Regions from separate parts of the Homo sapiens genome. Here regions 2, 3, 4, 5 and 6 are each linked to region 1. The links are contacts of gene promoters, found by promoter capture Hi-C in blood cells and fetal thymus (Javierre and others, 2016). All regions are on one chromosome and are shown on one strand. The core of a region is centred on a gene start or on the middle of the fragment in contact, and the rest is flanking DNA. Distances in the headings are between cores, read along the strand shown. Region 1 holds the start of HOXB-AS2 (HOXB cluster antisense RNA 2). Region 2 overlaps SKAP1 (src kinase associated phosphoprotein 1). Region 3 overlaps SKAP1 (src kinase associated phosphoprotein 1). Region 4 overlaps SKAP1 (src kinase associated phosphoprotein 1). Region 5 overlaps SKAP1 (src kinase associated phosphoprotein 1). Region 6 overlaps SKAP1 (src kinase associated phosphoprotein 1).

What was found. The method cuts DNA at HindIII sites, captures the fragments that hold promoters and counts their contacts. A CHiCAGO score of 5 or more calls a contact.
Region 2: a fragment that was not itself captured here is called in contact with the fragment with the promoter of HOXB-AS2 in region 1 in 1 of 17 cell types (M1 macrophages); the score reaches 5.4 in M1 macrophages.
Region 3: a fragment that was not itself captured here is called in contact with the fragment with the promoter of HOXB-AS2 in region 1 in 2 of 17 cell types (M1 macrophages and endothelial precursors); the score reaches 5.3 in M1 macrophages.
Region 4: a fragment that was not itself captured here is called in contact with the fragment with the promoter of HOXB-AS2 in region 1 in 1 of 17 cell types (M1 macrophages); the score reaches 5.6 in M1 macrophages.
Region 5: a fragment that was not itself captured here is called in contact with the fragment with the promoter of HOXB-AS2 in region 1 in 1 of 17 cell types (total CD8 T cells); the score reaches 5.4 in total CD8 T cells.
Region 6: a fragment that was not itself captured here is called in contact with the fragment with the promoter of HOXB-AS2 in region 1 in 2 of 17 cell types (megakaryocytes and M1 macrophages); the score reaches 5.6 in megakaryocytes.

Annotation. Positions count from the first base shown.
Region 1 is chr17:48,553,956-48,558,196 of GRCh38, reverse strand. HOXB-AS2 (HOXB cluster antisense RNA 2) reads right to left here and starts at 2,040. Exons shown (of 2, transcript NR_046610.1): 1 at 839-2,040. It overlaps HOXB3 (homeobox B3), which reads left to right. Exons shown (of 5, transcript NM_001384749.1): 3 at 2,579-2,666. The HindIII fragment of the contact is 1,381 bases long and covers 780-2,160 here.
Region 2 is chr17:48,169,000-48,173,382 of GRCh38, reverse strand. It overlaps SKAP1 (src kinase associated phosphoprotein 1), which reads left to right. Exons shown (of 13, transcript NM_003726.4): 10 at 2,724-2,774. Among named protein-coding and RNA genes, the nearest start is that of MIR1203, 15 kb to the right of the region's middle. The HindIII fragment of the contact is 4,519 bases long and covers 1-4,073 here.
Region 3 is chr17:48,191,193-48,194,984 of GRCh38, reverse strand. All of the region lies in intron 4 of SKAP1 (src kinase associated phosphoprotein 1), which reads left to right. Among named protein-coding and RNA genes, the nearest start is that of MIR1203, 37 kb to the right of the region's middle. RefSeq lists an enhancer at 2,199-2,816. The HindIII fragment of the contact is 2,282 bases long and covers 1,047-3,328 here.
Region 4 is chr17:48,215,308-48,219,465 of GRCh38, reverse strand. All of the region lies in intron 4 of SKAP1 (src kinase associated phosphoprotein 1), which reads left to right. Among named protein-coding and RNA genes, the nearest start is that of MIR1203, 61 kb to the right of the region's middle. RefSeq lists an enhancer at 1-129. The HindIII fragment of the contact is 1,816 bases long and covers 1,511-3,326 here.
Region 5 is chr17:48,232,710-48,236,798 of GRCh38, reverse strand. All of the region lies in intron 4 of SKAP1 (src kinase associated phosphoprotein 1), which reads left to right. Among named protein-coding and RNA genes, the nearest start is that of SKAP1-AS2, 60 kb to the left of the region's middle. The HindIII fragment of the contact is 850 bases long and covers 1,887-2,736 here.
Region 6 is chr17:48,150,572-48,154,857 of GRCh38, reverse strand. The region is part of intron 11 of SKAP1 (src kinase associated phosphoprotein 1); the gene reads left to right. LOC124904018 (a long non-coding RNA gene) reads right to left here. Exons shown (of 2, transcript XR_007065827.1): 2 at 1,982-4,286. Among named protein-coding and RNA genes, the nearest start is that of MIR1203, 3.8 kb to the left of the region's middle. The HindIII fragment of the contact is 218 bases long and covers 2,453-2,670 here.

The DNA of each region.
Region 1 (4,241 bases), core at 791-3,290:
TCTCGTGTTATTCCTAGAGGCAAAGCTGCGCAGTCCCAAAAGCGATCAGGTTCTCCTCTTCTCTCAGTTTTACAATGACCTTCTCTAACCCAATGATAGTAACAGCTAGGACAGCAGAGGTTTTGAGGTACATTCTTGGCTTTTTTTTTATTTGGGGGAGTGATAGAAAAAAAAACCCCAAAGGTACTGGTTTCTTTAAGCCTCTGGAAGCCTCCCTGGCCTGAGTCCCTGACCCACCAAGCTCAAAGTTACATGGGGTCTGACCCTGTAGGTCTCTAACCAGAGTGTAGAGATCTCAGGACAGACTTTTTGCAGCCACATGCTCAGGCACCCCTAACAGGTCTCTTTGGGGTTCCAGGCTGGCTTGAGCCCCAAGTCTAGGTCTGACTTGGATGTTTTATTTTCTTGATACTACTAATAAACACAGAAAAATACTAATAAACACAGAATAATAGCTAATAAACACAGAAAAATAGCTCCCACCCTCCATCCCCATGTCCCCCAACCCGTGCTTCCCCCCAGCTGTCAACTTTCTAGGTGGGAGGTGGGGTCCTCAGGACATTACATTCTGAGGCTCTGCAAGTGGCTTCTGTTGCTGGAGGGCAGGAAGGCCATAGGTACCCCCAGTTTATCAGGGCCCCTGGAAACCGGCTGCTCCAAATCACCTGGCCTGACTTAGCCTTGCCTGGAAGAAGTAGGGGCTGGAGGCCAGGGGCCACTCCCTATCTCATCCCAAAGTAGAGCCTGTGAGTGGGGAGAGAGAGGGAATGAGGGAAGCTTTGCCAGACACCTCCAACCTATGCTGGAGGGAACACAAAAGCTGGAAATCAACTCTCACCTTTGTTGTCCCCAGTCCCGTTCCCTCTTCTGGTGCATCCAGATGGGAGAAGGCAAAAGCCAAGTATTCTAACCAGGAAATCACAGGGTAGTGCCTTACATGAAGTTAAGAGGACCAGTTTTCCAAGCTGCCTTTAGAGAAAAGAGTCAGCTTTCTATTTCATCCCCTAGCTCCGAGTCAGCAGTTAGGCAGAGTTGCAAACACTCCTGCTTTGGGAAATGTCCTGGTGCTCTTTTTGTCTTTTCCTTCCTCCCGGAATGACTATTCCCCACCCCCTGTCCCAAATCTGCAGACACCTACATTTTTGGCTCCTGTCTTCCTCCTACAGGCCTCCTCCTTGCCTTTTCCTGCCCTGCTCAAACACACCCTAAGAAAACTTTAGCTTTTGTGGCCTTCCTCACTTGTGCCAAGAGTCATAAATCTTGCAGGGCAGAGAGAAACAAACAGGGTTGTTCTGAATAATAATAATAACCATCTTCCATCTCTTCTGCCAGTGCATTTAAAATTAAGCGACCCTGCTAGTTCTTCTCTTCTTAGAAGTACAAATGTCCTTATCACCTCTTAGCCCCTTCTGCCTATTCGGAGGTGAGAATCATAACAGAAACTTATCCATGAAGTTCTTTCAGCCCGTCTACTGCCAGCCAGTCTGGAGCTCAAACTAAAACACAGAGTCCTCCTTTTGTCACCCTTTTCTCAACCCTCCTCCCCCTGCAAGATGTTCAGAGTTTTTAAAATCATCACTCACCGCTTGTTGTCTGTTCTCAAAAAGAAAAAGGGGGAGGGGTGTTTTTTTTTTTTTTTTTTTTTTAAGTTCTGGTCTTTCCCTCTCCCTTGGTTAGAGACTGGGCCTGGAGACTGGAGGGAGATTTGGGAGGAATAGAGAGGGTGTAGTGGAGGGAAGAAGCCGGGGCTGGAGACTCAGAAGGAGGGAGCCAGAGTGTGAGGGTTGGAGACCCAGAACTACTTTCTAAAAAAGTCCTGGTGTTCCAATTGCGAATGAGTGCAGAGGGGCACCCGGCACCCTCACCCCCGGGCCAGGCCTGCCTTTGACTCAGCCTCCAAATACTACTTCTCATATTAGCATAATAGTTCACTAGTGGGGTATGGGGGGAGCTGTGAACTTCACCGCCCTTCCTTGCCTTTGCTCACCTCTTCCTCCCTGTCCCTCCAATCTAGATTTAAATTTTTACCTGTTCTTTAAGGAAAAAAAAAAAACCCTCCTTCTTTTCTTCTTACTCTTTTTTTGGGGAGGCGGGTATTTTAAAATTTCCCCCCTTCCCCATCACCACCATCACCTTCCCTCCTTATCAGGCATCTAAGCTTGCTAAAGGGGGAGAGGTGGGGGGGTGTGAGCTTGTGTGTGAGTGAGTGTGTGTGTGTGTCTGTGTGGTTTTTTTTCCCTGTGCAAAAGCAGAGGCCATTGTTACGGAGAGTAGGGCGTACCAGTCTTATAGGGCAACCACACTGTGGCGGCTTAGCCCTGCTGGAGCCCGGAGCTGGATTCTGGCGAGCTGAGCCGCCCGGCACCTTTCGGTCTTCTATTTTTTTTCCCGCTCCCCCACCCCCTCCCTCCTGCGCACCCCTGCTCCTAAGCCGAGTGAATTGAAGCGGACGCCGCGCGGCTCCTCTGGCCGGTCTGCCCCTCGGGCTCCCCAGCCGGGGTGGCTTTGCGGGGCGGGGGCGGGGGGGCGGGGGGCGACGCAGCTTTAAACAGTGGTCTTTTTTTCCTTTGCCTTCAAGGAGGGGAGATTTGTCGCCTGCCGCTCGCTCTGGGGCTCGATGTGAATATATATTATGTCTGCCTGTTCTCCCCTCGTCGGTGGCTAAGGTAAGCTGGACTGAAATAGGCTATCAGTTTGTGAATGGCGGAGAGTATGTCTCAATGATTTATGGCCCATATGACTCCAATCTCGGTTCAAGAAGAGTTCACAAGCTTTAAGCTTCCTTCCACGCAGCGACTCTCTCTCTCCCTCCCTCCCTCCCTCCCTCCCTCCCTCTCTCTCTCTCTCTCTCTCTCTCTCTCCCTCTCTCTCTCCCCTCTCTCTTCCTGCTTCTCTCCTCTTTTCTCCTCTCTCTCTTTTCTTTCAGCAGCCAGATCCAGGGCTGAATTTTCTCCGCGGCTGCTAAGAAAGTCTCAACCTTTCTCTGTCTTCCTTTCTTGTTATTTTTCTTTCTCCCATTAATTTTTTTAAGTCCTGGAAGATGGCCTATCCCCTCTCTCGGGGCTTCCCCAGCTATTGTTACTCTCCTGGCTCTCCCTGGGGTGTGCTTGGCAAGGTGGGGTTCTTGCGGGGGGCTCATCTCCCTTCTCCAGCGAGACCCTGGGGGGAAGCCGGCAGCCACCGTCTCCCTCCCTCCCTCCCGAGGAGCCATATGGAACCTGAATTTTTCCAACATGGAGGCAAGGGAAATAGATCTGTTTGGCTTGGTAGAGTTGTTCCCCACCCCCTCTTGTTCTGGATCCCAGATCTTGGGTCCCCTTAGCACCTTTCTCTCTTCCCACTGTCCCGTCCGCCAGGCCTCGGCGCCCTCCAACCCGGAGCCCTGCTGAGCAAAGTCCCGAAGCGGAGTTTCTAAGGCGCCTTTTAATTCGGTTACCTCCAGCTCCCAAAACTTGCTGCCGCCCGCGGGGCTCGGCCCTCGGCCGGCTGGTGTGCTGGGAACCTGCCTCCGATAACCGTTTTGGTGTCCTGATCGCTTGCTCTTCTTCGCCTCCTTGGGCCATCGTAGGTGGCTGGTAGCTTGTCGCCAGTCGCCGCGGCAGCAGCGACCGGCTGAGGCAGCCTGGCAGCAGCAGCCAGGGACTACCCGGGTGCACAAACCTTCCCAGCCCTGTCTGCACCACCGGCGGAGTCTCCATTCTTTCCTATCGCGTCTCTGGCTCCTTCGCTTTCCACACTCGCCTGGCCTCCGTCCCGCGATGGTTTGGGGTTTATTGCAAGGGGAGCGGCAGGAATTTCGGCCCCAGGCATCTAGTTAAATTATTGTTTTATTATTATTACTATCATCATCATCGTCATCATTATTATTGCTGTAACAATCAGACTAAATAAAGCCAGGGCCTAGCCAGCCAACCCCCTCCAACGTTTTTATTTCATTCTCTTCTCTATTAATAACAACCACAACTAATGCCTGTTAATTAATTCCCCCTTCAGCCAGGGCTGCTTGGAAGCTAATTTTGGTTAAATCAGCAGAGGCTAATGGTAATAATAATAAAGGGATTGGGTCAGCCTGGTCAATTGAACTCTGGTTCTCCCTGGAAGGACCTGCTGCTTTGCAGACCCATGTGTATTTCCAGAAACCAATCGGAACTCAGGGTTACACTGATTCCCTTTTGAGTATAAATCTGTGCCATGAAGAAGGGGATTTATGTGAGGGAGGGACTTTTCTTCACCTGCACTCC
Region 2 (4,383 bases), core at 565-3,064, 380 kb after region 1:
TCCATTAGCTTAGGTTGTTTTATTCCTCGTGGTAGGGTTGAGGGAGCACTACAGGTGTCAAGTAGAACATTCTCTGCTGCTAGATCATACATGGCTATAAGAACTGTTGAGTCAAAGTGCTCCTTTTCCCATACTATATTGTAGGGCATATATATATATATTTTATTTCCCAGAGTATCCGTCCTTTTTTTTTTTTAGAGACAAGGTCTCGCTCTGTTGCCCAGGCCCAGGCTGGACTGCAGTAGCGCAATCATGGCTTACTGCAGCCTCAAACTCTTGGGCTCAGGCAATCCTCTTGCTTCAGTCTCCCAAGTAGCTGGAACTACAGGTGTGCATCACTGTGCCTAGCTAATTTTTATTTTTATTTTTTATAGAGACAGGGTCTTGCTCTGTTGTCTATGCTGGTGTCTAACTCTTGGGCTCAAGTGATCCTCCCATCTCAGCCTACCAGAGTGCTGGGATTACAGGCATGAGCCACCACACCTGGCCATATCAGTCTCTTTCTTACTTGAAATCAATTACTCCTTTAATGCTTTATAGTATTCTAATATATTTTTATGCTGCTCCTTCTTACCTATGAGCTTGGAGCTTACTTCCCCAGTTTGGCATACCGGAACTCATATTGCCCTATAAACATTACATTTAAAAAAAGAAAGAGAAATGTCAAAGTTTCATTTAGTGGCAAAACTATGGAGAAGCAAGACAAGCAAATGTCATTAAGACTCAGGAGAAAGGAAAGTAAATGTGGCCAGGAGGAGCTGAGTATTCAGCCCTCAAAACATTGCTTACTATACCCTATCTACTGTGCATATGTGTGTATATATGTGTGAGTGAGAGAGTGGGAAAAGAGCATGGTGGTAGTGAAAAGAATAACGAGTGTATTTTTCTTCACTTTGCCCCATGTATAAAATAGCTAAATATGATTCTGGTACACATATTTACATTATAAGGGTCCAATTCCTATTTTATCGGGTAATGTGACGAGATGAAACCGGTTAATGGGAGTAAGAAACTTAGGCCAATTATGTTATGACTTTGACCGTATAAACATTTGACTGGAGTTAGACACTGGCATTGAGTTAGAACCCATTGTGAATCTACGGCAATTAATTAAAAGACCATTCCAGCTACCCTCAGGAGCTTATACTCTAATGAACAAGACATGCTGAATAAAAACAGTAAAAAGATAACTACAAGCCCCAAGTACTAGGAACATAAAATTATGTACATGACCAGCCTCCATTACAGCTGAACAAAGATGGATACATTAAGGATTAAGGACTAATTAATCAAAGAGGGTTTTTTGTTTTTTGTTTTTTCCCCAGGACAGAGTCTTGCTCTGTCACCCAGGCTGGAGTGCAGTGGCACAATCTCGGCTCACTGCAACCTCTGCCTCCTGGATTCAAGCAATTCTCTTGCCTCAGCCTCCTGAGTAGCCGGGGTTACAGGCGCCCGCCACAGGCCCAGCTGATTTTTGTATTTTTAGCACAGACGGGGTTTCACCATGTTGACCAGGCTGGTCTCCAACTCCTGACCTCATGATCTGCCCGCCTCGGCCTCCCAAAGTGTTGGGATTACAGGCATGAGCCACCGCACCCAGCCAATCACAGAGGGTTGTTCACACACACACACACACACACACACACACTCTAACATCCTAACTCTAGAATGCTTAAAACTAGAGAGAATGCTTGCATAGAGATAATAATTTTGAAGAGAATTCCAGAGGGAAGGAGAAATGGAGTTTGAGGAAAAGGATTAGGATTCTGGTGATAGACATCTAAATAATCCAATGGACTGGAAGCTCCACAAGGGCAGGAACTCTGACAGTCTTGTTTATTGCTTGTCCCCAGTTCCTAGTGCAATGTCTTGCATGTAATGAGCACTTCAACATGCTTATGAATAAATGAAAGGGAAGGGAAGGAGAGGGCCAGTTTGAAGGTGACAAATTAATATTTTTTTTAAGAACACAGTAATTGCCAGGCACGGTGGCTCACGCCTGTAATCCCAGCACTTTGGGAGGCCAAGGTGGGCGGATCATCTGAGGTCAGGAGTTTGAGACCAGCCTGATCAACATGGAGAAACCCCATCTTCACTAAAGATACAAAATTAGCTGGGCATGGTGCTGTGAGCCTGTAATCCCAGCTACTCGGGAGGCTGAGCTACTCGGGAAGAATAGCTTGAACCCGGAAGGTGGAGGTTGCAGTGAGTCAAGATCACACCATTGCACTCCAGCCTGGGCAACAAAGAGTGAAACTCTGCCTAAAAAAAAAAAAAAAAAAAAAAAAACAACAGTAATTAAACTTTCCTTAAAGAAGAGAGTATGATGAGCTCAGAGAAAGGGGACCTTTCCGTATAAGGAACATGAGACTGACTGGCTGGACGCAGTAGCTCACACCTGTAATCCCAATACCTTGGGAGGCCAAGGAGGGTGGATCACCTGATGCCAGGAGTTCAAGACCAACCTGGCCAACATAGTGAAACCCCATCTCTACTAAAAATACAAAAATTAGGCGTGGTGGTGGGCACCTGTACTCCTAGCTCCTCAGGGGGCTGAGGCAGGAGAATCCCTTGAACCCCAGACGTGGAATTTGCAGTGAACCGAAAATCGTTCCACTGCACTTCAGCCTAGACAACAGAGCAAGACTCTATCTCGAAAAAAAAAAAAAAGAACATGAGACTGTGAACCACTAATTGCTAATACTGATCATTTATCCCCCCAGATGAAGAGCATGATCTAGAAGAGGATGAGAGTGGCACTCGACGAAAAGGAGGTATAAGAGCTTCTAAATGCACAGGCACTGGGTAGGACATTATGGGCTTCTGATTAGAGAAAGCACCTTTCTCTGAGACTACAAAAATTACTGAACTCAATAATTAAGAGGGTACCTGTGTGTGAACCCCAAAGCCCTAAATAAAGTGACTGGGTAGGGAAATACCTAAACTTTAAAAGCAGCCATACATTCACTTTAATTAATGTTCCCAGAACAGCCAAGATTTATCCTAGAGCGGGTGGGAAGCCAAACCAGACATTTATTTTTTCCTATCAATATTTCTTATATCAGTACAGTGAAAATAGAATTGCCTCATCTCTAAGAGATCAGAGGATTGAGAATGGAAAGAATGGAAATGTCTCCTCTCTGAGAGGCCCGGAGATTGCAAGTTCAGAGGGGAATGGAAATGTGTCAGATCTGAAAAGTGAACACAGGGTGAAAGATAAAATTCCTTGGTGATGCTGACTTCTGATAGCCTGGTTTGATTCCAGGCACATTTGGAAATGAATATGTAACAGGTTTGTTGAATATAAAATTACATCTTATTCATCCCAGACTGTTAACCATGCTTCAGGCTGTTAGTGAGCCCATCCTTTCTAAGGTCAGATGCCCCTCTGAAGCCTCCTTAAGTGGACCAAGGACCTATTCCATGGTTGTCAGTAAAGGAATGCTGCACATTGCAAGGGCCACCTCAAGGACATTCGTTCCGTCGGCAGAGCCCTAATCATGACTGATTTAGATACTGGCTGATATTTTTCTTAGGGAGTCTATGAAAATCTTAAGCCTAGGAATTCTTGCCCTCTTTCCCTCCCTGCTCCTTCTCCATTATCTAGCCCTGTCTTTTCCTATTCTCCTCTCTCCTTTCCTTGTGCTTTTTCTTCTCTCCTTATCCATCCAGCAAAACCCCCATTTCTAGGTTCATTCTCTACAGAAAGTGAATACTTAAAAGGTTCAGGACCCAACTTCCTAAGGGTCCAGCTTCTCCCAGGGAAGAGAAGAGACAACGAAGATGCAGCCTCAGAAGTCATGCGCCAAAGCAGGAGAGAAAGAAAGCAGTGGAGGCGGGTGTGATGCACGGATGTGAGTGTAGCTGCAAGTACCTCATGATAGTGAACACATGTGATTAGGTCCATTCTGAAACCTATTTCCTTCTGTTGTCTACTTACTGTACAGAATTCCAAATGAAAATCTGTTCTGACCCGCCCATGTTCCACATATATCTTTTCTCAACCAACTTCCATCACCAGTGCAGAAAAGAAACACTTCATGTGGACAGCTTGGGTGGAGTAACTGTAAGCTTCCTATGGCCAATTTCATATTAAACTCCATTCAGAAAGCATTGATCTTTTAGCAAAGTCTAGAATCCAGTTTCAGACTCCTCCCTCATCTCATTTCCTCCTTCCACCTCTTTCTCTAAGGTTATATCTGGGAGGTGAGAGGAGATTTATTTCTTAACTGTTCCTACAGCTATAATTCAAGTAGGTTTAAAAAAAAAAAAACCTTTTGTTCCTCATGCTTCCTGCCTCCAAAATAAGTGTTGTTAAAGTATAGCAAGCTCTGAATATGTTTCTATGGTTTACACTTCCCACCAGTTATAATGATTGGTGAC
Region 3 (3,792 bases), core at 938-3,437, 360 kb after region 1:
TGCATTGGAATTGCAGGTGGAATTTGACCATTCCCAGCCTTCAGATGTTAAATTTTCTCCAATCTCATACACCCAATCCCCAGGTTTTTTACATGAGTACTTTAATGAAGGATCCTGCTAAACTTCACCCTGTCTGAAATTCACCCCTGTTAGCTATTAGTCTCTAGGCTCAAGTTGGTTAGGTCCCTCTTTTAAACAGTTGAAAAGAACTTGAATTAAAAGGAAGAGGGAGGATGGGAGAAGTCCATAACTTAACAGGGGGACGATTTGAACAAAAGATGTTTTTTAAAAAACTATTTATTTTCCTTTCAGGATGATTTAGCAAGAGACCAAGCCAGCTGCCTATAATGAAAGTTAGTGGGCACCTGGTTTGTTCTGCAGGGGCTGCAGCCTTTTTGCGTGGAAATTGTGTGGCCTCCTGTGCTATTAGCCTTGTGCTCTGGTGTTGCCAACTGATTTCTCCAATTCTCTTTTCTCAGTGGGCTAGAACGCAGCTGGTTAAATAGGCCGTGACTCACATAAGCTCTCGTGTCTTTTTTATTGACTGCTTTATGGAAATGTATCACACTCCAAAGGGTCCCCATTGTTGTTGCTGTGCATAGCTGACTAAAGAGTCATGTTTAGCATTGAGAGATGGAATCCTATTCTGTCGTTTTTTATTGCTTTTTTTGATGTGGGTGGGATACAAGGGTTTAAAGGAAACTAGATGAAGAGAAAGATATCTGAGAATTTCTTTTATCTTCATCTGCCATGAAAGTTGGGTGGCCATCACTTCTGGGTAACATACTTCTCTGTTGATCTTATCTTTGTGGCCCCATATCCTTCAGCTAAGTGAATCTTTTCTTTATACGGGCTGTTCTGAGAGGTTTAGTTAAGTGTAGTGGTAGGGAGAGATTATGACACTAATGTAATTCTGTTTTGTGCTGATATAATGTAATACACCTTTAGACTTAGCCAAGAGGGCCATTTATTCTCAATAAATCAAAATCATTTTTATTTTTTCATGACGGTGGTGATATCTTTTCTCAGGTAATGAATAAAAAGCTTCTTTTTTTAATTGTATACTTAAATATAAATTGTTTGCCTTAAAATAGCAACTTATACAATTGTTTGCAACTTCTTCCTATTTTTATAACCGTCCTTTAAAGCATATTTTACATACTTTCTATTATGCATTAAGTAGTTCTCTGCAGATCTGTTCGTTTACCAGTAGGTGTGGATCCAGGCATACAAGATTCCTGCCTCATCACCCCATGGCATGGCTAACACTGTTCATCCTCAGGATCACTAGTTCTTGATCAGTAGGACCCTGCGCTGACACTGAAAGAGGAGGTACCTTGCATGCCACTGTGGATTCCCACCTTGGTTATTTGGATTTGTCAGATAGATCATGGAGCTAATGAGATTGAGCTCAGAGCCAACTACATTGAGAACAACTCTGTTATTGAACTCACCACACAGTACCTTGTACACAGAAGACAGTTAGTAGACTAGAGACTGATCTGACCTCATTTCCTAATTTTTTTTCCGTAGACATTCTAAACTGAGCCTATAATCCCATTTTTTCCCACTGCCCATAAGGGGAACCAGGCAAGAGAATTCCTCAATACAGATTCTGTCTAATGAATAAGAAAGCAACATAGACCGGGTGCGGTGGCTCATGCCTGTAATCCCAGCACTTTGGGAGGCCGAGGCGGCTGGATCCCCTGGGGTCAGGAGTTCAAGACCAGCCTGACCAACATGGAGAAACCCCGTCTCTACTAAAAATACAAAAAACTATTCAGGCATGGTGGTGCATGCCTGTAATCCCAGCTACTTGGGAAGCTGGAGCAGGAGAATCGCTTGAACCCGGGAGGTGGAGGTTGCAGTGAGCTGAGATCACACCATTACACTCCAGCCTGGGCGACAAGAGTGAGACTCTGTCTCAAAAAAAAGAAAGAAAGAAAGCAACATAACACATCTTACTGACTATACACAAAAACACACCATATAAAAAGCTGTTTCCAGCTCTATTCCTTTTCAGAATCTTGTTAGTGAATGACCAAGAGAAAAAATTCAGCAGCTCCTTTGGTACCCAATTTTAGCAAACTGAGTTTGACTCTTGGGGAGAGAAGGTGGTGATGGTGCTATCCCTTGTCTCCTAGAATTAGTGACTTAGAGTTACATCTCTGCTGTATTATGTCTTTGTTTCCTTAGTGGTGGCATTCTTGGGTTTCAGTTGGTGGGGAGAGAAAAACCTCATGCTGATAATGTACTGAAAGTAAATGAAATTAAATAAGCGAAGCAGTGCTCATCACTACTTCCTCCCCCCTGGGTAATTCAATTCAAGCTCTCTCTCTGATGGCAACTCACAGGGGCTGTCTCTGTCACCCCGCTGGGGCCTGGAGTCTTAACATCTAAATAAAAGTTTCACTCAGGCATTTTTTATGCTCCTGCCAGCAGGATCAGTGAGCTGGTGTGGGCACATTAATGTAATATTCATACTCACAGACTCTCCCTGCACACGAGGCAATGTCTTCCCATTTTCATAATTATAGATGTTCCATAAAATGGCATTTAAATTTGCATTAAAAAAAGGAGGTTTGAATTCTAATAGAACGTTTAACATGTCTTTTATGATTCAGACTCTTGGCATCTTTGACAAGGAGCTGTGTCTCTAAGTTTAACAAGACCTTTAAAAAGAAAAGAAAAAAAAAACCTGTGGAAAGAAGAGATGGAAACTCCCAGCTTATGGGATCGTGTTTTCCTCATCTCCCTATGTCTTTCATTTAATTTTTAGGCCTCCAGGAGCAATTTTTTTTTTTAAGAGGCAGAGTCTCGCTCTGTCCCCAGGCTGTTGTGAAGTGGTTCAATCACAGCTCACTGCAGCCTTGAACTCCTGGACTCAAGAGATCCTCCTACCTCAGCCTCCAAGTAGCTGGGACTACAGGTTTGTGCCACCACACCTGGCCTCCCCAGGAGCAATTTTTTGACAGCACTTCAGAGAGCCTTCTCTTCTGTAACTGGTCCTCACCCCACTCAATGCCTCACCCTCAGTAGAATCTGCTACTGTTTCCTTGGAGGGTGTTTTCAGAGGGGTAGGAGAAATGAAAGAACCCTAGAAAAATGAACTTTCCTTTGCTGCTGTTCATCTCATGCGTGCACCCTGAGATTGATTAAAAGGATTTATGGCAACCACATAGTTTGCTAACTGTGAAACACACAAATAAAAGTAGTCCATGAACAAGGAGGTTAACAATAAGGACCAATTGGATAAAAAATCAGGCACATAGACACACTTAAAAACAGAAAAAGAGGCTCTTCTGATCTACCTTTTTATAACTAAGCTTGAAACAGCTTTAAAGCAAAATGTAATTTTGATTGCATTTTAAATTGTCGTAGATGTTATTTTAAAACAAAAAGTAGGAAAAGCACTGAGCAAAGTGCCAGCTCATAGCCACCATTGAATAAATGTTATTGTAGGAAATGTTCAAAAAACAATTGTTTGAAAAAAAGTTATTTCAACCATAACTCTCAAGATACTCTATAGGTGGCCCAGTTGATTCATATGTAGTTATGCCTTACTTTGTTTTGTATTTGGTTTGCTTCATAAATTATTTAAGACAATCCAAAAGAGATTTGAGTTCTGGGACTAAAAAGAATAAATGTTAAAATACCGCTAGCCCAATTACCTTCATTTTGCCTAATTAAGAAATGTGGAGTGTGTCCTTAAAAGAGGCTTTTTTTTTCATTCTTCTTTCATTTTATTTTTTGAGAAGTAAATTCCTTCTTTGTCTCCATCCTTTGTCCCTC
Region 4 (4,158 bases), core at 1,169-3,668, 340 kb after region 1:
CTTGAAGTGTTTTGAAAATACTAACCAATAAACAGTCATATTAGAAATAGGCAGAACTGGTGCTTTATTTGAGGCTGGACATATAAGAGTTTCAAAAAGGTTTGTGGATGATAATTCCTCTCCTTTTGTCAGCAAGAAGTTCAAGTTCAGTGGCCAGTTTTTTTGCCAATGAGAAGTGAATAGTACAACTGACTTTTAAAATCAAATGTCACATTCCACATGGTTCCCACCTGGGTTTTAGTTTCTCAACAATGGAATACAATTTTCAATAAATCTAGAGATAAAAATTCTGCCCAAGTAACCTCATTAATATTGAGGGGACTCTTCTCTATTGGAAATCTGTGTGTTTTGTTCAAAAAATTGGAAGCAAAGAACTCTTTCAGGTTAATTCTAGAGATTCCAAAATTAAACATATACTATTAGATAAATACTAATAGGAAATTAGGTTGTTATATTTTTTCTATTTCTCTTTCTTAATCTGCCTTTCTCTTTATTCCCACTGTAAAATGTGTGCATGTTTATTCCTTTCTACTCTTCATGTTCTGATTTCACATGGCCACCCCATGAGGGTTTTTTTTTTAACAATCTGAAACCCCCAAAATATTGAATTATTATGGAAACAAGGTGCAGTATTTCAAGCATCACCCTACAATAGAAGTAACAGGATAATGATTTTCTTTCTCAGTTCAGATATTAGAGGCCCAAGTATTGATTGCCTGTTTCTTTTGCCTCCTGTGCTCTGATGAAACTACACTTTTGACACAAAGTCACAATAAAATGTGCCCTTTCCAGTATGAGATCTCTGTAAATGTCATTCACACAGTCATTGTTTTCTAATTCTTTGCATTTTCATCAGAGTAGCACACAAGCTCTTCGTTGAGTGGAGACAGAGCAAGCAGTGTTTAAATTTAGAATTCACTAGAACAACCAAGTTCCATTATTTTGCTAAGGACAGTTACAGTCTAATAATAGGACTCCTTTTCCATAGTGTTTATGAAATTATTATTCTTAGAATTGATTAAGTGATGAGGACTTTGATAACTAGAGGTTTCATGAAATGCTGTTGGGAATATTGATGTTGGGTTTGCCAGGCAAAGAGAGGTTGTAAAATCAGTGTGAATGTCAGTGTTTATGGATGAGAAGGGTTGGTTGGTAACATAAGCTGAAGCCAAGCTGGAGACCTAGAGGAAATGGCTGCTTCCCTAACCCAACTCTGCCAGCTAGTCTTCCTCCTGACCTGCAACATTCTTACTGTCTCAGCCCCAGGTCTCTGATCCTAGCTGTTAGCAAATGATTTGTGATTTTGTTTAAGGATAAATATCAGTGGTAGCCTAGCTTGAAGCCACCAAACTCATTTCATTTGTGCCCTGCACCAAATCTGATCCCAAAGGTGGCAAGCTGGCACATTAACACAATGTGATACTTAGTACCTTCCTCCTTCTCTATGAAATCAGTTTATCCAACAATATCTCATACAAATGACCTGCAAAAACAAGCCATACACAAAGCTTTCACTAACATCTTGATAAATGTAATTGGTGCACCTATGGCTTTTCAAGATGTTCCTATGCTGTGACCCTCTGTTTCACATAATGTAGCCTTTTAATTTATTTCCAATAGCTTCCCAGTCAGTCAGCACTGGCATCCTTTTTCAAACCTCAAATCATGGTCTGATAATCCATTTTGGTGCCTTTATTAGCCTCAAAGGTAGTTTGAGCTGTTAAAATTTTTTTTTAACAAATTTCTTTTGGATAAGAGATATTGCAGTGGACTCCATATAATTTTTACCTTTACCTAACCTTTTCTTATTTATTTATTTAGAGACAATATCTTCCTCTGTCACCCAAGCTGGAGTGCAGTGGCACAATCTCAGCCCACTGCAGTCTCGACCTCTTGGCTCAAGCTATCCTCTCACCTCAGCCTCCCGAGCAGCTGGGACTACAGGTGCACACCACCAGGCCAGGCTAATTTTTGTGTATTTTGTAGAAATGGGGTTTTGCCCTGTTGCCCAGGCTGGTCTCAAACACCTGAGCTCAAGCAATCCACCCATCTCGGTCTCCTGCAGTTTTTATCTGGCACCATTGCAGCTGATCCCATCTTGACAGCAATCCTACTGGAAATCTATTCAGAAACCCCTCTTCTGTTCATCTTTGCATCATCCTGTCTGGGAGATAAAGTTACCCAGGAGACCACTGAGAGGGCAGGTCTCACTCTTTTTTCTTTTTGCTTGCTTTCTATTGATTGTCCCTAGAAGAAAGGTAACTGATTTAAGGGGCCTGAAAATGATTTGGACAGACTATAAAGAAAATAAAAATGAGATCAGTATGAAGAAGTCAATACCACACACCTTTTTCAAATTTGACAAAAACATTTAAGTTCTGAAATATTTCAGGTAAAAAAATAAAATATGTGATAAGAGAGAGGCTTACCTGAGATGTACTTTAGGAAATCTGGACTTCACTTCTTTCTTATATTCCCCCTTTTCACTCTCAACACATGAAACGCTGAAAATGGAATTTTTGCTTCTTGTATTAGAAGAATTCAACATTTAAATTTCTTAGAAAGTTTTGAATCTGATACTTATAATATTTGCCAATCTGTCCATGAAAGAACATGCATTCTAGAGAATGTCTGACAAAAGAGAGGGCAAAATTTTATCTCTTATGAATATTCAGGCCAGGTGCAGTGGCTCACACCTGTAATCCCAGCACTTTGGGAGGCCGAGGTGGTTGAATCGCTTGAGCTCAGGAGTTCGAGACTAGCCTAGATAACATGGCGAAACCCTGTCTCTACAAAAAATACAAAAATTAGCCTGGCATGATGGTGTGCACCTGTAGTCGCAGCTACTCTGGAGGCTGAGGTGAGAGGATCCCTTGATCCCAGGAGGTGGAGGTTTCAGTGAGCTGAGATTGTACCACTGTACTCCAGCCTGAGCAACAGAGTGAGACCCTGTCTCAAAAAAAAAAAAAAAGTATATTCACAGTATTGGGTGCTTGTGCAAAGTGGACATAGGGTACTTAGTTCTTAAGACTTATCAGCAATATGTTATTTCAATTTCATAAGCAAGTAAGATAAATAGTGGCTTTGCAGTTATCACACACTCTATCAATGGGATGTTGTCAAGATAGAATCTCAGTTGTAAGCTCTCTATTCAGAGTCTTGTCTATAAAGTTGTATTGCTTCTATAACTCAAACAAGATCAAGTTGTAGCTGGCACCATTTTCCTCAGAGTAGGAAAGATATAACTGACTCCTGTTTAAGAAATGTCAAAAGTCACCGGAATTCATACTGCCAAGAACAACATGTGTGTGACATGTTGCTAAGCTTCCCTCTGCAGGTTTCCCCTCTGTGTCAGTGGTATGAACCCAGCAGCTCAGAATGAGGTAATTTCACAAAGGTGGGCATGTTGAACCCTTATGGCATCCTTCAGATAATGCATAGGTCAGAGATGGAATAAACAAAGCAATATGCTGAAAGCCAGCTGTTTAAGTGAGGAGGAACAGGCCTGGGAGTAAAGGGCTACATGGAGGATTGCAGTTAGGCTCAGGGGCTCTCCTGAAAGGTGAGCTTGCCCTGTTGGTGCTTATCTTACACAGTGAAAGGAAAGGAGGAAAACTGTCTCCAATTAGAACCAGGGAGAGCTGGTGATGCTGGGGCTGCCTCTATCTAAACCCTGATCTCATACTGCTTCCCTGTGGAGAATTATCTGAACTGCAGCTTCCCTCTGTGGGCCCCTGCCTGTCATGTCCATCCAGTGTGGTCTCGAGCCTGGACTTGGTATCATCCAACAGCAGGAAAAAAAAAAATTTCTGTTAAGAACCTTAGCAAAAAGAATGGGGAGGCCATGAGAAAATGGTCTTCTCCTGAGTCCAGAGTCATATCTCACAACAGGCTGATCTGACACGTCTGCATCCTCACCCTTCCCTTTTTACATACCTTTTTAAAAAGCCCAAAGCCTCCGTCTGCCCAATGGTGTTCCTTCGGTTCTGCTTTCGCAGATATATGTTGTGGCTTGCACCCTGGGGAATTCCAAATCAATTGTTAAAATTCCCTACTATTTCCCTGAATATTTTTCACAAAAGCCAAATCACAAGGCTATGGCCAACATAGAGGTTTCCACTTTTATCTTTTTATAATTATTATCACAGCTTTCTGCTT
Region 5 (4,089 bases), core at 1,062-3,561, 320 kb after region 1:
TATACTAAATGACTTATCAAGTGTAAAACACACTCTTACACACCTTAGCAGATACTTTTCTCTTTGTCTGGAATCCTGTTTCTTACTTGTAAGTCTGGTGAATTCCTTCTCTTCCTTCAAGATTTAGCTCAAACTTCGCAGTCTCAGTTAACATCCTATTCGTTCCTCCTCCTCCATTGGCAAGCAGTCTTCCATAGTCTCACAGCATTTTATAAATTGCCAGATTTACACCAAGTACTTTAAATTTGTTTATGTAATCTTATTAAGTGATTAAGTAACCTAATATGATAGAGAAATTTATATTTGGGGATTGATTACTTTTCATTCATTAATACAAGGAATATTTATCAAGAACCTACTGTGGTATATAAACCTCTACATAGTGTATATTCCAATAATAGTAATGTAATATTCAAGATTTGGAAACAATTACCCTCTCTGTGCTCCCAAAGAATCTCGTAGAAACCTTAATACAAATGATAAATTGCATTATAGTTATTTGTTTACATTCTGTCCCCTTCTCCTCTAGACTGAGTTCCTTCACAGCAGTTATTTTACTCATCTTTGTCTCTCCAGTACCTAAAACTTTGAAGGTGCTCAGTGTATGTTTATTGAATAAGTGAAGGAATATCGGAAAGCATTTTCAACTTTAAAGAGCTTTGCTTAACCTTGTTAACTCTATGTATGAATGTATTTTTCTCCCTTGACTTTGAAATGTTACAATCATCACATCCAGTGTAACTATTTTTAAAAGGCCCAACATCTTTTCAGATGGTTCCTCATGAATTTTATCCTTCAAATTGTGTCTGCCACTCCACCCAAAATCCTGGGCTGGCTTTCCTCTTAAATCAATGGATCATTTCTCAAAGAAAAGCAAGTGTGGTCCCTTGAGCTACATACCAGACTTGTAGGAAAGACAGATCTTCTAGTATTCTCTGGTATATTTGACTATAGGCTCCTGATGAGTAAAGCAGGAGAAAGAGCTATGATTACTGGTCCAAGTACAAGCAAGACTTGCCTCTGGGTGATGTTATTCTGGGAGTGGAATAGCATCATACACTTGCTAAGTTCTCAGCACTGTGAGTTGGAGTTGGGAGGTGAACACCAACATTCTTTGCCATCCTCAGCTTTGCTGCACTACTGAAAGATTTCATGGCATTAAACCTCTCTCATGCTTGTCCTACTTTAACACAATTTCCAGCAGCATCTTGGATATTCTTCTATTGTCCACTTATCAGTTACCTTAGCACAGAATGAAATGACTGTGTCTGCATTCAGAGTTTTGTTGTAGTTGATCTTGTTCTGCAGTTTTCTACTAAATGGAGTCTGTGAGCAACTTTGATGAACTCACTAAAAAAAAAAAAGTGAAAGCTAACTTTTGAGGCTGTTCAAACTTGATAGTTGTCTAGCAAGTTAGGACAATTTGTTACTTTATGGACCTTCAACCATGGTGATGCTGAATGCTCCATGGTCACACATTCTGTGGTGTTCCCTAAGTATACACATTTATGTTCATTTCTCACTTTCTTTGTAGATCTCTGCCACCTCCCTATCTTCAGGTCCCTTTGCTGCTCATTCCCCTTTTATATATCAACAATACCAGATATTCCCCACTTTTCCACATCTCTCTTTTTCCAAATATTGTTCCATTAGTCTTAGAGAACTCCTATTCATCCTTCAAAACCCAGCTCAGTCTTTGTCTCCTCTGTGAAGCCTTCACATATACACACAAGGAAAAACGTAACATTTCTTGAGCTCCTATTAGGATTCTCATGCTAGGAACTAGTTCGATACTTTTACAAATCTTGCCTTGCTTTATCTTCACAAAGCATTTTAAAATACATTGAGATCTCCATTCTCAAAACATAAAACCAAGGCTAAAAGCTTTATGGCAAGCAATTGAAATATCCAGAATTTAAACCAGGGTCTGCATGATTTCAAAACTCATCCTTGTTCTGCCATATCATGCCACCATAAATCTCCTTTATTCATTTTGTATTAATGCATACATTTGTAATTTTGCTTTTTACTCATCACATTCTGTGGTTATTTATTTGACTGTCTTTCCTACCAGAAAAAAAAAAGTGCCTTGAAAATAGAATGTATTTCTTATTTATTTTGGTACCCCCACAGATCTCAGAACATTACCTGACATATAACAGATGCTGAATAAAGGTTTCCAGGGTTGGATTGCATCTGATTAAAATTAAGTTGAACTGAACAACATATTACCTTGAATTTCAGAATTTTGCATTTCTGATGATATCTGGGGCTCAGATGCCATTTACCTCATGCCAGATGACACATGGCCTCAGTTTTCTTCACAGGTGTCCATGTCTAGCCCTGTACCAATTTCATCCTAAACAACTGCCCATATTCCCATTAATGTGACATAATCATTAGCATATATAAGTTCCTAGAGAACTGCTTTCTATCTCATGTCTTTATTGTAGTCAATGGAGTATACTCAGTCTTTTAGGAATAATTAAAATATTCTGTGACTCTAATTAAAGTAGTCTGGATATTTTTAAGAAACCTATATTTAAGAACAAGCTGAGGGCTGACATCAAGTTAATTGTGTTATTTTTAGTGGAGCTATCATTGGAGACAGCAGCATGGCACCCAGTGCCTTTTTTTAATCCTCATATCTGAATATAAAATGTTAAATAACCAGCATCTTGAGCTCTTAAGAGGAAAGGCATTAAAGCATAAATAAATAAAGCTGTTATGAAAGCTTAGAAAATTATCTAAATGCACTTGAGTAAGAAGTCATGTACTTATTAAATTGCTAGTTATAGAGATAAATGCCCTTAAACCTTTCACTGCCAAAAAAACCAAACACTCAAACAACTTGGAACTCTTGTCATATAAGCATGGGGGATGCAGAGAGAGAAGCTGTTGGCTTGTATTTCTGCCACTCTAAGTAAACATTTTTTTTTTCTCAAGACACAGTCTTGCTCTGTCACCCAGGCTGGAGTACAATGGCACAATCTCAGCCCATTGCAACCTCTGCCTCCTGGGTTCAAGCAATTCTTCTGCCTCAGCCTCCCTAGTAGTTGGGATTACAGGTGCGAGCCACTATGCCCGGCTAATTTTTTGTATGTTTTTAGTACAGATGGGGTTTCACCATGTTGGCCAGGCTGGTCTCGAACTCCTGACCTCGTGATCCACCCACCTCGACCTCCCAAAGTGCTGGGATTACAGGTGTAAGCCACCACACTTGGCCAGTAATCTTATTTTACCCATATTTTATACAATTAGTACAGTAAAATTTTATAGTATTATATTTTATCTGTTTAAATTACAGACTATTCTTGTTTTTACTAGAAGTCAGAATTTGTCCCCTTCTTTCTAGTTCCATCACCAAACCTTTGCCAAACAGGGACAACACAGTTCAACAAAACCACACATTCTAGCACTGCCATCCTTTCTCTTTTCTATTGATGTAAAGAATCATCAATATTTCCTTTTAACACCCTCCTTCACCTTAATCTCAACTGAACATTGAAACCCATTGCAAAGTAGCCCCATTTAATTTTCCATAGCTGAAATTGAGTTTTTTCAAATGTGAGATCCAGAACTGGTGACCTCCCCAGATTGTGGTACCCATTAGCCACAACTGCCACAGAGTTCCTATTGGAGATGGAGCATTTCTTTTGTAAAATTTACTCAGGAGACACTTGCCAAACCAAGCTCCTCTAGTATCTTGCTGTTTTCCATGATCAGGATTGGCAGAAATGCATCTCTCGAAAACAGTCCAGGCACAGTGACTTATATAAGAACACAATCATGGTTATGAATATCCACTAGACATTCTGATTCTGGATAATCTGTGAACCTAAGAAAAGGAAGATCAAGCAGTGAATTTATTTGGAAATAATAGAACTGTTGGTTGGGTTTTGTAGGCTGAAGTTCTGTAGTTAATCATTATTCTGCGAAATCCTGAATGATGTTGTTTGTAGCTTTCCTATGCAGGCAGTGTCCCCATGGGAGTCCTACTAACGGTCTTTTGTCAGGCACTATCAGCAGTATTGAGCCAGCCTGAGCACCCTATTATTAATCCTTTTCTCCTAGTGACATGACAGCAAT
Region 6 (4,286 bases), core at 1,312-3,811, 400 kb after region 1:
TGAACTCCTGGCCTCGAGTGATCTGCCTGCCTTGGCCTCCCAAAGTGCTGGGATTACAGGTGTGAGCCACCACGCCCAGCCAAGATAAGACTTAAACGCCCATTTTTTTTAAAAGCATCCTGTTCCATAAGTTATTTATGGTGGTAACATGAGCTGTTCAGAAGATAAGGACAAATTAAAGAGGGAAAGAGAAGCTCTTTTTCAATTGACTAGGAAGGAGAAGAGGCCACTGGGTGAGATCTTCCATTTAAGGTAAACTGAGCCAGTGTACATCTCTTGGGCTTGGGTTGTGTGCCTCATAAATTGGTCTGAGGCTCTTCCAAGGAATTGTCCAGTGCCTTATTTCCATGGAAAGCAGCCTTGGAGCAACAAGTTGGGTACGCATAAGATTTATACTTACACGGTGGCTTAGCTGGGGTGGGAAGGTATTCTCATGGCCCAGACACACCAGGGTCTGGGTCATCTTCCTTGCTGATGGAATTGATGTGGAAACAGGGAGCCATACAGACAAAGTCAAGTTTAGCGTGGAACACGTGATGCTGTCAGATGGTCATGGGTCTTATGTGGAGAAGAATGGACTTTGTCACCCTGGACTGCAGCTACTTAAACTCAGATGAGATCCTGGCTCCACAGCCAGTCTAGTCATCTGAATGCGGCAGGCCTGCGCCAGCACACCTGGACTATGTTAACACAACACTATGTCAATTATAATGGGAGTTTTAACCCGGTTTTCTCCACCTACTTCCTCAATGGGCTACTTAAAAGAATGGAGACCTTTCCCCTCCCTTGACCCCGTTCTTTCCAAAAGAGATTTGTATGTTGTAAAAATTATCTTAATGCAGCAATACTTCCTCTTTTAAGTGTGCTTAGTTGAATGTGACAACAACCCTCATAAAAACAGATAAGTTAATTCCTTCAATTGCCTTAAATGAAGGATTTTTTTTTCTTTTTTTTTTTTTTTTTAATTTCAGGGCTCTGAGGGAAAGGAGGTGTTTGGTGACATCTAGTGTCCATTTAGGACTTCCTCAGGCACCATACCCTCTGGTTGGCTGAGTGGGGGATGGGTGGGGGGTTATCTGGGAGGTAATTTAGGGGTAGTAAGTGGGGAGAATATAGGCCTGGGGCACAGGCTGCCCAAACAGTGTGATGAAACTGATCAATGCCTGTCAAAGAGCTATTATGCACCTCTGACCTAATCAAAGGGGTGGGTGAGGGGATCCTATGGCAAAGTATCTTTTCTTATTTATGATGGTATGCAAGAGAAGCAGAAGCTGTCCCCACCACCCCATTTCATGTTAACAAGCAGGTCAACACTGTGCTGTGATGACGAAGATGATGATGATGGTGTTTTCTCTCATTAATAACCCCTATGGGAGGCAACGGAGTTAGGAGGATGGGAATGGGATTTGGGGTCAGCTGGAAGGCAACGGTCATATACCGGTCAAATTCAGTAGAGGCCATTCCTTTCCCCCAGACAGGAACCAATCGTCTAGAACAAACCCTGGCAGCCTCATTCCTTCCAGGTAATTTTTATAAATGAGGGGACACCCATTCCAAGAGAGGACAAAAGGGAGAGGGTGTTTATGTGTGTGTGCATATGCATGCATGTAAACCTGCTAACAAGAGGCCCAGTTGCTCATCAACCCATCCTGCAAACCCTGACCATTTATTCTAAAACCCATTTTTTAAAAAGAGAATAAAATTGGCATTTTATTTTATTCTATCTATCTATAAATAGTCTAATCTATTTATTCCTAAACAGTTGTCCTGGACAAGACCTTTCACTTTTCTCTCTCTCTGTGTATGTATGTGTGTGTGTGTGTGTGTGTGTGTCCATGTGCACACAGTTTTCAGTTGGGGAAAATTCCAGACCAGATAATTAACTACGAAGCCCAGACAGAAACGTTTACCTAGAACCATATAAGCCACGGCCGGGTTAGGTTAATGCTCAGAATTGCCCGATGCTTTACAAACTCCAGTGTAAAAAATTCCAGCCATTTATTTTGCAGTGAATTTATAACAAATGCTGTTAACGTCTTCGTCTTTTGACAGAGGTAATAATAAATTCACTGTTAAAGATGGTAGTTTAATTCCTTATACCTCCAATACTGCACAGAATAAACCATATTCATCACTGAGTAATTTTTTACCACATAAATCTTTAAAACTAACCGGTGAAGGCTGCGGAAACTGAAATATTGTGAATTTATTAGATATGCCCATGTAGTATTGGATTCAGAGGTTTCCATTTGAATATATTATGGGGAAAATTTGTGTCTTTAACTGTGACATTCCCTCCATTTCCCACCGCCAGTATTATAACAAGCAGCTCCTCCAGAGTCAACTGCACATTTATTAGACAGAGATTTAGTAATAAACTCCCCACTAATCTGCCAAAGAGGCTGGATGACATTTTGGTGAGATGCCCTATTTAAAAGGAGTCACAAAAGCTTTGTTTCAGTATAATTATTTTCTCAAAAGAAACTCAGCCTCCCCAAACCTCTTCTGCCACCATTTCTTGGTATTGCGTGATTCAGCTCTCCAACCAAACTAGCAAAATATTGAAACAAAGTATAACCTCATTGCTAACATACAGGGCAGTAACTTCTATGGAGATTATAGGATTAGTTATGCAAGACTGAAGGTAATTGATTAGAACACAGAAAAGCTTAAATTTGCAGACATTCCCAGATGTATGGTATTTAAGGCTAATAAAAAGATCATATTGATTCTCAAATTAGAAATAATAGAAATGGTTTCAGAAAACTAGTTATTTAAAAACTTTCATCTTGACATATGAAACGTTAAAGATACAGTTAAATCCTCAGATTTGAACAAAAATCCTTTTACTCTACATATTAATTTTGAGTGAAAATCTGTACCTGATAGATGAGAATATTCTGAACCTTTCTCATGATTTGCTAGTGAAGTGACAATGAAACTAACCAAGTATATCAAATTGTAACACCCTCTCCAGTTTCATTAAGGAAACATTAATATTGCTAAAATGAAAAATATTTTTTTCTTTTAAATGCAGAAATGTTCATCATATTTAGCAAAGAGAGTCTGCAGTTTCTCTGTTCCTGATAATATTCTGTATTTGGGGAGAGTTCCAAATACTAAGAACTTACATGGAGCATTGTGAACTTTACCGTTTTTTAATAAAATTGGTTTCTAACTATTAAACAAAGGAGAAGAATCTCCTGGCAGTGCAAGGCTGTAGCCCATCCGAATAATTGTTAAAAGACAGAACCCAGCTAGAAAGATAGGCATAATACCAGCAATTAATATTCAGCATTTCACATTATAGTCAAGAGGATGTGTTTTTCTTTGTGATGTGGCTCATAAGCTAAGAGTGTTGGGAGCCAGACTCTGAACTGTGTCTTCTTTTTGTGGATGAGGATTAAGGAGGAAAAAAACAGCGACGACAATCCTGCTCCATCTGTAAATGAACAAACATCTTGATTTTATAGCTATTTGCTTTGTAAAACTAAGGAATGAAACAAAAATTACTGGATGCCTAAGTAACACTTTAATTCTGAATTCATTTACGCTATAGCTATGTAGTTGTCACAAACCATAATGCAGTATTTAATTAAAATAACAGAAGTGCATCTAGATATGTCCTGGGGTAGCTGTCACCAAATTATACTCTATGCCATCGGTATTTTATTTATGAAATGGCAGATTCTAAGGTGCAACTAGGCTGATACAAAAGCATGAACATTTTAAACTTGCATTTTTAGAAAGGCTCTTTTTTTTTTTTTTTTTCCTGCTGCGTCTTTAAATGTTTTCCTCCTTCTGTCTTTGGAAGGGGAGGGAGGTTAGTGTGATTGTTTAAAGATCTCTCTAAATCTTGCTTTTCAACTGTTGACCTCCTAAGTCTTCTGGCTGTGAAATCCCCGTCTGTTGTCATGGAAAGGCTTGCGAGGTTCACAGGAGCCACAGCAAGTGTGGGACATCTTAGGCAGAACTTGGACGTGGATTCCAGGAGGGTAGGGAAAAGAGCAAACCGTTTCAGACTCTCTGTGCCTGTTCCCACATAATCTTCCTTGCACCTTTTTCCACCTATAAATACCCGTTGTCGTGTACACGCTTGCTCGCTCTACTTTGTGGATGTTCACATGCAGACATACTGCTCTTTTTCATAAGCGCATAGCATCTATCTTATACGCACCCACCATCTATCTCCTTGTTCACATTGGCTGTCCCATCCACCTCCTTGTCTGCAGAATTATGTTCAGCAAGGTCCCGATTTATAGGAAATAAATAATGAAAATGGAACG